2 separate regions of the Homo sapiens genome follow, and region 2 is linked to region 1. The links are contacts of gene promoters, found by promoter capture Hi-C in human tissues and cell types (Jung and others, 2019). All regions are on one chromosome and are shown on one strand. The core of a region is centred on a gene start or on the middle of the fragment in contact, and the rest is flanking DNA. Distances in the headings are between cores, read along the strand shown.

Region 1 (4,942 bases), core at 1,103-3,602:
TTAAAGTCACTCTGAGCCTCATATGCCTCATCTGTAGAATCAGGTTAATCCTTTATCATAGGGTTATCCTTTTTCATGACTGAATGAAATGTAAAAGCATCTCATGCCATACCATCAGAGATAATCACAACAAAACTTAAAAGGAAATGTTTAAGCTATTTTTCCTAAATACCAATGAGGTGATATTTATTTAAAACATTAGGTTGGACTCTCACAGCAGAAAGCATATCCTACTCATCTTCGTATCCGCAGGAGCTAGCATAAAACCTAACACAAAATACGTTGTGGTTGAATGATGTAAATGATGATATCCCTAAGTATATTCATGTCATATCCATTGCTTAGCCCTCCCATCATAGTGATTCTCTTGTCTTCATCTCCACCACCAGCACTTGACCCCAAATTTGTCACCTGGATTTCTGCAGTCGACTCCTAAATGAGAGGGCAGTGTCTACTCTGGCTTTCTTTCAGTCTTTTTCCTGTTCCAATCCCTGAGCTGCATGGCTTCTACTCACCCTGCACACCTCAGCTTTTTTTTTTTTTTTTTTTTTGAGACAGAGTTTCGCTCTTGTTGCCCAGGCTGGGGTGCAATAACGCGACCTCAGCTCACTGCAACCTCCACCTCCTGGATTCAAGCGATTCTCCTGCCTCAGCCTCCTGAGTAGCTGGGATTACAGGCATGCACCAGCATGCCTGACTAATTTTTTATTTTTGTAGGGATGGAATTTCTCCATATTGGTCAGGCTGGTGTTGAACTCCCAACCTCAGGCGATCTGCCCACCTCAGCATCCCAAAGTGCTGGGATTACAGGCATGAGCCACTGCACCCGGCCCACACCTCAGCTTTGCTACTTCCCTGGGGAAGCCTTCCCAGGTCTTCCTACAAGTCCTTAAAGAATCGTGTATCTCTCCTTCACAGAACTTATTAATTTATATTTCTTTAGGTGATTATTTAATGAATGTCTTTGTGTCTTCCCAACTGAAGTATAGGCTCCAAAAGAGGAAGTATTTGTTTTTGCTCCCCAGGTGTCTTGAGTATTCAAAATTTTATTGAATGAGTAATTTTCATAAATATTAATATTCTTAAGAAACCATCTAAAATCCATCTCTGTGGTACCCTGAAACGATTTTAGAAACACTATAACAATAATAAAAAAAAATAGGTACAGAGTACTTACTGGCATATCAAGTCAAAATAAACAAAAGGGCAATTGGAAGGAGATGTAAAACTTATTTTTTCCCAAGTTTGAAAATATATTTTCTTAGACTTAGAACCTCATTTCTTTCAAGTTGTAAGCATATGCTAATTTCATAGCAGGCAACTTTTTCTTCCAGGACCAAAGGCTATAAGAAGCTTTGCAGAAGAAATTGAAATACAGTGCAATATTGCATGTAGGCATGAAATACAATCATCCATACATCTAGAGGGCTTTTAAAACATGATGCCTTAATCAGAATATTTTTAGTACAAGTTCTGGCCAAATGAATACCACATCGTCTGCAATGAATGCCTGAGTGGCAAGAAGCTGTGCTAGTTTACTTTAAAAAGAAATAAATTCACTTAAGGGAACCAGAACTGGGTTTCATTGCCCCTTAATTAGATGGCAATATGAAGTTGAGTGAGAAGTTAGTGCTAAATTTTCTACGTGTAGTTTTAGAATTATATACTAGTTGTGATATACTTACCAATTGCAGATTAGCCAAGCAAGAAAGTAGAATTTTATGCTAAAAGCTTAAAATGGGACGAAGAAAACATATCAGAGGTAGCAGAGATTTGATAATATCAATAGTAAAAAATGCAGCTGTAGACATGGGAAACCATGTGTGTATCATAAAGAAGTTAAGTAAGGTGACTCGGATAAAACACCTTCACTGGATTCCCCTAGGGCATCTTGCTCCGGCAGCGTGAGCCCAGAACGCTAGCCCTCCTCTCCTGCGCAGGCGCGCTAGGACCGACTTCTCCCTACAGTAAAGTGACGATAAACTCTGTGAAAGGTGGGACCCCAGGAAACCTGGGCCAGAGCAAAGAGATGACACTTTAAATCCTGGAACCCTGATGGGGTCTTTATTCCATTTCCCCCCTGCTGACTGCATGGCCTGTTACAGGAGTAGCTCACCTGCGGGGAGACCACAACCGTGGAGGCTGCGAGCCGCAAGGCGCGGCCCTGCAGACTCCGCAGAGCGCTTCCCCGCACGCCGGTCACCGCCTGGCCCGGGAGCACCCGCGCGCGAATCTTCTCTCCATTCAGAGTACAGCCTGGTCCTTCCACCATCTCTGTGGCCGGCACTGTGGCCCACCGATTGCAGGGCCTGGTGAGAATACCGCTGTGCAACTCAACGCTGCGCGGGCACTGACCGCACGCAGAGGAAATTCAAATCTCGCGCGCGTCTGGCCCCGCCCAGGCCCCGCCCAAACAGCACCCTAGCTGTTGAGGTCGCTCCCTACGGCGCATGCGCTGTGGTTCACCCCCGCCCTAGGTCTTGCTGTGGGTTTATTAAGAAAACGCAAACGCGCGTGGGGCGGGGGGCGTGGAGGACAACTAACTAGGCTGAACTGTAAAAGCAGAAGAAATTGGGACTTGGAAAGCTCTGAATGTATTTTCTTTGCGTTAAAGTTTTGCCCTTGTCTTTGAGCTACTTAGTATACACACATTTTCTGATCTGGTCCTCTTAATCTGTCCTTGTCTGTGACAGGACAGATATGTCACAGACAATCTTGTTTTTGGCTCTGTTTTTGGCATGCTATATTCGGACGTGGGTGGGATAAGAGAAACGAAGAAGAGGGTTTTTGGAACAAACAGCAGAATATATTCTAGTGTCTATATTTAAAAACTCCATTATTAGATAGTTAAGTGAGCCCTACCTAAGTGCATGCATCCATTTTGTAAGGGGACGCCCCAAGATGAAAGCTATATGAAATTGCTTTGTTAAACGTAGAGGTTTATATAAATTTGAGGGTAATGCGTAGCTTTTCAAATTTACCCACAACCCTAACCAAAGATGCATGCATACATATAAATCTATGAAGTTTATGACTCCATATAGTTTTGTAAATTATAAAGTGTATTCTTTTTTGAAAACTGAAATACTACACATTAAAACAGAATGTCAATTTCTAAGTGATTTCATAAGCATAGCACTGTGCTGCCGTTAAACCACAAGAGCATATACACAGGTGGTTGCTGACTTAGGATGCCCCAGCGTAACAGTGTTTTGACTGTATGATGGTGCAAAAGTGACACACAGTAGAAACTGTACTTTGAGTACTCATATAGCCATTCTGTTTTTCATTTTCAGTACAGTAGTCAATAAATTATTCAACACTTTATTATAAAATATGCTTTGTGTTAGGTGATTTTTCCCAACTGTAGGCTAATGTAAGTGTTCTGAACACATTTAAGGAGGGCCTCGTGAAGCTATGATGTTTGGTAGGTTAGATATATTAAAGGCATTTTCGACTTACTGTATTTTCAGTTTACAACGGGTTTATCAGGACATAACCCCATCGTAAGTTGAGGAGCATCTGTATACTAGAGAGTTGAATTTGAATATACTGAAGACTTGATTGAAATTTTGAAAAGTATTAAATCTTTCCTTTGCAGGGAGAGATTAGTGATCAAAAGTTGGCTGGATCAATTTCAGGACTATTTGTACTTTACTCCCTTGTTCAATTCAATAATCTCTGTCCTTTGATGGAGAAAAGTCCTATATACCTTCTCCTCTTTCAGCGTTGTACTAGTTATTTATTGTTACCTCATCAATTATCCCATTTGTTATTTCAAAGTTTCTGTGGGTCAGGAATTTGGCAATAGTCTAGCTAGCCAGAGTCATCCTGGCTCAGCATTTCTCAAGAGGTTACAGTTAAAATATTAGCCAAGGCTAAAGTGCCCCAAAGGCTTTTTGTAGCTAAAAGATCCACTTCCGAGATGAGTCACTTGCATGGCTGTTGGCAGGAGGCCTCAGTTTCTCACCTCTTGTGTCTCTATAGTGCAGCTCGGCTCTTCTAATGACATGGCAGCTGAGAGTGTGATCCAAGAGAGAAGTCAAGGAGAAAGCTGCAATGCCCTTTATTACTTAGTCACCCTTTATTACTTAGTTTACTATGGTAACTTACTTCTTATTCCATTCATTAGAAGCCAGTCATTAAATACAGTGCATTCACAAGGGGAGGGGAATTAAGCTGTGATTTGAAAGGAGGGATATCAAAGAGCTTGTGGACAAATTTAAAAAATATCAACCTGTTCATTTATCTGATTCACCTCATTTCTCTTTAAGGTGTTGTGTACTGTGCACATTTGGGTCAAATACGATCTTTAATTAGTAAGAGTTGGGGACTGACACTGAAGGCATTAAGAGATTTCACTGGCGTGACTGAAAGGCGGAGTCAGATTTTGTTTTGTTTTGTTGGCTGGAGTGCAGTGGCCTGACCTTGGCTCACTGCAACCTCCACCTCCTGGGTTCAAGCAATTCTCTTGCCTCAGCCTCCGATGTAGCTGGGATTACAGGCACCTACCACCACGCCTGGCTAATTTTTGTATTTTTAGTAAAGACGGGGTTTCACCATGTTGGCCAGACTGGTTTTGAACTCCTGACTTCAAGGGATCCACCCGCCTTGCCTCCCAAAGTGCTGGGATTACAGGCATGAGCCACTGCACCTGGCCCAGATTTTGTTTATATGTGACTAGCCTCTGAGTCCTTTGGTATATCTCTTTGATCTTGCTTCTTACGTCCAATCAAAAGCAAACTCGCATACGCTGTGTATCTACATTGTCTGTAAAAAGAGCCCACAACATTGCAAGCAAGCCTACCCTAGTGCAGACCCTTGCTACATTTCAGCTGGACTATGTCAGGATCCTGCTAACTGCTATCCTCCTTGAATTTTCTCTTGTGCACTCTTACCAGAGGAACCTTCACAATTTCTTCTTAAGTCCAATTTACTAATT
Region 2 (4,942 bases), core at 1,164-3,663, 410 kb after region 1:
TGCAGTAGAGAACATTTTCTGGCTTGACCCATTTTTCCATGACTCTGTCTCTAACACTATTAGAACTTGGTAAGTAAATGTTTCACCACACATTTAATTGATATTTGCCATTTTCTTATTGATTAATTTTATATTGACTACCTAGAATCATGCAGCATGTGATATTGAAGAGAAGTCTAACATCTATAAGACTAAAATCTCCTTTTACCAATGAGAAACACTGAAACAGGGCTAGAAGTTGAGGCAGTATGTTGCTGGAGCCTAAAATATTCACACCAGCGCTGTCTGCATGCCTGTGGTTCAGTCCACTGCACAACGTGACCTATGTAAACTGTTCCTTGAACAAAATTGTGATATGGAATTTCTTTGGAATCTTAAATTGTGGAAACCAACCCCCTTCTGAGCCCATTCAATGCCAAGAATTTTAATTAAAATATAATAATAGTAATAATAAATTATAATTGTCAAAATTCCTTAGTAGTCTATTTCAATGAAGACGGAAATTTTATTTTTAGGCTTTTATTTTTATTTTTATGTTTTTGAGAGGGAGTCTCGCTCTGTCACCCAGGCTGGAGTGCAGTGGTGATCCCAGGTTCAAGCGATTCTCCTGCCTCAGCCACCCAAGTAGCTGGGACTACAGTCACACACTACCAGACCCAGCTAACTTTTTGTATTTTTGGTAGAGACGGGGTTTCACCATGTTGCCCAGGCTGATCTCAAACTCCTGACCTCAGGAGATCTGCCCGCCTTGGCCTCCCAAAGTGCTGGGATTACAGGCTTGAGCCACAGTGCTCTGCCTTGGTTTTTTTTTTTTTTAACAAAAGTGTGTATAGTGCAAAAAGTCATTTATCTGAAGGTAGCAAGCCTCTCTATATTTTTTTCTATATAGATATATATATATATAGAGAGAGAGAGAGAGAGAGATGTGTATATATATATACAAGATGTGAAAAAAATGCCTGATTTTCTTACCCCTATCTTCCCTAATGTTCTCACTTTCTATATTTTTAAAAGTTTAAAATGATAACGTGGAGGAGTGCTGAAAGATAATTGTTTAAATTTGTCAAAACCAAAGAACTGTAATGGGCTCGATTCTACTATCATTAGCTCCAGTGTATTTTATTATATGGCATGGCTGTTAAATGCATGAAAACTTTGATTTTTGATCTGTGCTTTTTAATTTATCACTTTAGTTTCTTAGTATAGATGAGTTTTATTTCCTTTTTAATTTCTTTTTTTTACAATTCAAGCATGTTGCTACCAGATGGAAATCATTTTAATAATATGTAGCTGCAATTCTTTTCTTTTCTTTCTTTTTTATTTTTTTTGAGACGGAGTCTCGCTCTGTCGCCCAGGCTGGAGTGCAGCGGCGGCTCATTGCAAGCTTCGCCTCCTGGGTTCACGCCATTCTGCCTCAGCCTCCCGAGTAGCTGAGACTACAGGCGCCTGCCAGCACGCCCGGCTAATTTTTTTTTTCTTTAGTAGAGACGGGGTTTCCCCTTGTTAGCCACGGTCTCCAGACCTCGTGATCCACCCGCCTCGGCCTCCCAAAGTGCTGGGATTACAAGCGTGAGTCACCGCGCCCGGCTGTTAGTTGCAATTCTTAAAGAAAAATTCAAATACTTAAAAGAACTATTGGAAATGTAAATGTAGAAATCCAAACCATGCCCAATCATATATAATATGACGCATCTCCCAAAATACACACACATAAACACACGCACACATTCACCTCCAAGCCCATGCACAATTATATATAATATGGTGCCTCTCCCAAAATACATACACATAAACACACACACACACACACACACACACACACACACACACATTCACCTCCAAGCCCCATTTCTCAAAGTTAATCCCTGTTAACAATTGGTATAATTTTCTATATTCTCTCTATAGATTTTAAAGATTTTTTTCACTCTATGATACATCTTAGCCATCTTTGAATATGTAGATATAGTTCATTTTCTCATGGCTATGTAGCATTTAATTGTGTGATAAACCTTAATTTATAAAAATGCTTCTGGTAAAAGATGAGTTCTTTTTATTTTTTATGGCAGGAGGTAGCTATTACAAAACATTAAGTGAATATGCTTGTATATACTATCTTTCACACCTGTATGAAAAAAAATTAGGATAACATTTTAGAAGTGCAATGGCTAGGTCAAACCTTCACCACATAGGTAGAACAGTTTCTAAATGACCCTGAAAATACCGTATTACTTTACACTCTCATGATCTCAACATCAATAATGGAGGATATTAATCTCTCCTTACTTTTGTGGACATTGAGTATTATCACTTAAATAAAACTTTGGGGCTTTAATCAATCAGTTTATGACATTTGTATTTTTTACCTGAGAGAAAGATTTTAGTTTATTTTTCTTTCTCACAATAAAATAGAACTAAAGCAACCAAATTTGAGCTTCGTTACTAAATGTTACATCTTAAAAATAATAGATAAGTATCAATCAATAAAAAACTACCACTAACTAATTCAACCACTCTGACCAAATCACTGAATATTCTAACTCATTTCATAACTAATTTCTCACCATCTTAGATATGATGGTGCTTCTTTTGAAGCACATGTCATTTCTGTTAGTATTTGCAAGGTCATTTTAAATATACATAAAGCTTTAAGCAGTGTCAAAGACTTGGAAAAATTTCTTTGTTTCCTCTGACTTAATCAAATAAATGTTTTCATTTTTCTTTTTAGTTACTCTCTTTTGAATCAAACACAATAAAAGACTGAACAAATATGACAATGAAATTGTAAAAAGAATATATAGAGATATCGATATATAATGTTGCTATTTATATAAGTAATGTGAGAACATAATTGTGTATATATCTGAAGTTTTAAAGAATGAAAGGATAAATAATAACTTTTTAAAATGTTTAGCTAAAGCAAGAGACAAGGAATAGGGTCGATACAACACGGTGACAAGCTAGACTAGAGCATATCTAGTTTTGTAGATTGTACTTTGGAACTACATGGAAATTTTTTACATAATTATAAACTTTTTTTTCAAAAAAAGCAATCTCTAAAAAAACTAATATAAAATAAAGCAAAGAAATAAAATATGTATTTAGTTGATGGAAGAATGACTACAAATGATATTAAAACACAATAATTTGACTAGGCATTGTCAAAGGGATGTAACTTATTAACTGAAAAAAACCCTACTTTCAGCAGCCAATTTTTGCAAGTAGTTTCGGTGCTATTATTAGAGTTTGTATGTATATAATTAAATAAAGTAGATGAGTAATTATGTGATATGTTAAGGATATTATTTCAGGTATTATTGAGAACTAGAATTCTAAGTTTGGGAAAAAGAAGAAACAAATGCAAAATAGAAGGTTTTAAACAAAACTCCCATAGTCATGGTCTTTAATTCAAAGTATCAATATACTACTGATGTATTTTATCTTAACATTATATTTCCTAGCTCCATCTATTTCACAAGTCTAGAAACAGTGACCCACCACATAACAATAAGCCTCAATATCACCCAGAGTTGATATCAAGACTAAGATTTGTTTCTATTAAAAGGAACTAGGGATCCTTGAAAAAAAAAATGGCTGATTCCAGGTCTTAGTCAAGAAATGGTCAAGAAAATCCTAGACCATCTTTCAGGCCAGTTATCAAGAAAATAACGAAAGTCTAAAAGTTGTGCCCAACGGGTTCAGCAGTCATCTTGAAGTGGCTCCCATAGCCTGATATGGGAAATTTGAGTATAAATAGTTCAATACATTAAATGTTTATATTCAAATAGCTATAGTGAGTGATACTAACATAACTTAGCCAACTGGTCACCTCTGGATAGTAGAGAACTGACTCACTCTTTTGAATAGCTGGTGCATATAGGTAAAGACTCAAACATTTACCCAACCTCTCCTGTGCACTGTGCCACTGAATAGCCAAATCAATAAATGAGTTTCTTCTTTTATAAATATTTCAGTTAATAAAGAAGAAATAATAGAATAAAAATAGTCCCACCATACAGCATTAAGATATTTATTGAAAGATCATCACATTAAGCATAGCTACTGCTAACCTCACAAAATTAGGAACATGCAGATATCATGGGCTTCTGGTTGAAATAACACATTATCACCCATAAACAAATCTTACCAAAAAATGGAAAAAGCAAATCTAAGTGTAATCACATATTTAGATAAGAGGACAGGGAAACAAGTTAAAATATACCACAGGGATACAATAAGTGATGTTCAGACTGGGAGAAAATAACTTCCCAGCTTCTTCAACAGTAAATTGTATGAGGTTTAAAAAAAGGAGAGAGAGAGAGAAGAAGAAGAAGATGAACCCATAGATTAAAGGAGATTTAAGAGAAATGGAACCATCACAAAACATTGAGATTGTTTCAGTCATATTGAAATACATATAATTAGGATATTCATGAGATCATTGGAAATTTGAATATTGACCTGATATTTAATGAGTAATTATTATAGATTTTAGGTAAATGAACTTCACTATAATTGTGTGAGTAAAGACTTCTTATCTTTTTGGGTAATGTAAACATTTTATGGATGGACTTATACAATCTGGGATTTGCTTCAAATAATATGGTTATGGGGAAGTGGTTGGTGGAACAGATAAAACAGAATTGACTGTGAGTTGATAACTGTTGAACTGGATCGAGAATACATGTGGGTTTATTATGCTATTCTGTCTGTTTTTGTTTATGTTCAGCATTTTTCGTAATTACAGTTGAAAAAATAAATATAAATGTTATGGGGCTTTCAGAGTTATCACTAATAAAGTAAGCATGCTTATTTATTACAAAGCAAGAATAAGTAAATTATATATCATTATCTACATAGAAAATTTAGATTTTAGATATTTTTAAGATATATTGATATGAATAAAAATGTTAAATATTTAAATAATCACTTATTTTGAATTCAT

The links. Contacts are between HindIII fragments. The study calls those that stand out against the background at their distance.
Region 2: a contact is called between a fragment that was not itself captured here and the fragment with the promoter of NEIL3 in region 1, in 1 of the 25 tissues and cell types used here (dorsolateral prefrontal cortex).

What each region holds. Positions count from the first base shown.
Region 1 is chr4:177,307,284-177,312,225 of GRCh38, reverse strand. It overlaps NEIL3 (nei like DNA glycosylase 3), which reads right to left and starts at 2,352. Exons shown (of 10, transcript NM_018248.3): 1 at 2,117-2,352. The coding sequence starts at 2,272. RefSeq lists an enhancer at 2,182-2,271 and a silencer at 2,352-2,471. The HindIII fragment of the contact is 18,461 bases long and covers 1,543-4,942 here.
Region 2 is chr4:176,897,875-176,902,816 of GRCh38, reverse strand. No RefSeq gene overlaps it. Among named protein-coding and RNA genes, the nearest start is that of LINC02509, 25 kb to the right of the region's middle. The HindIII fragment of the contact is 5,130 bases long and covers 1-4,942 here.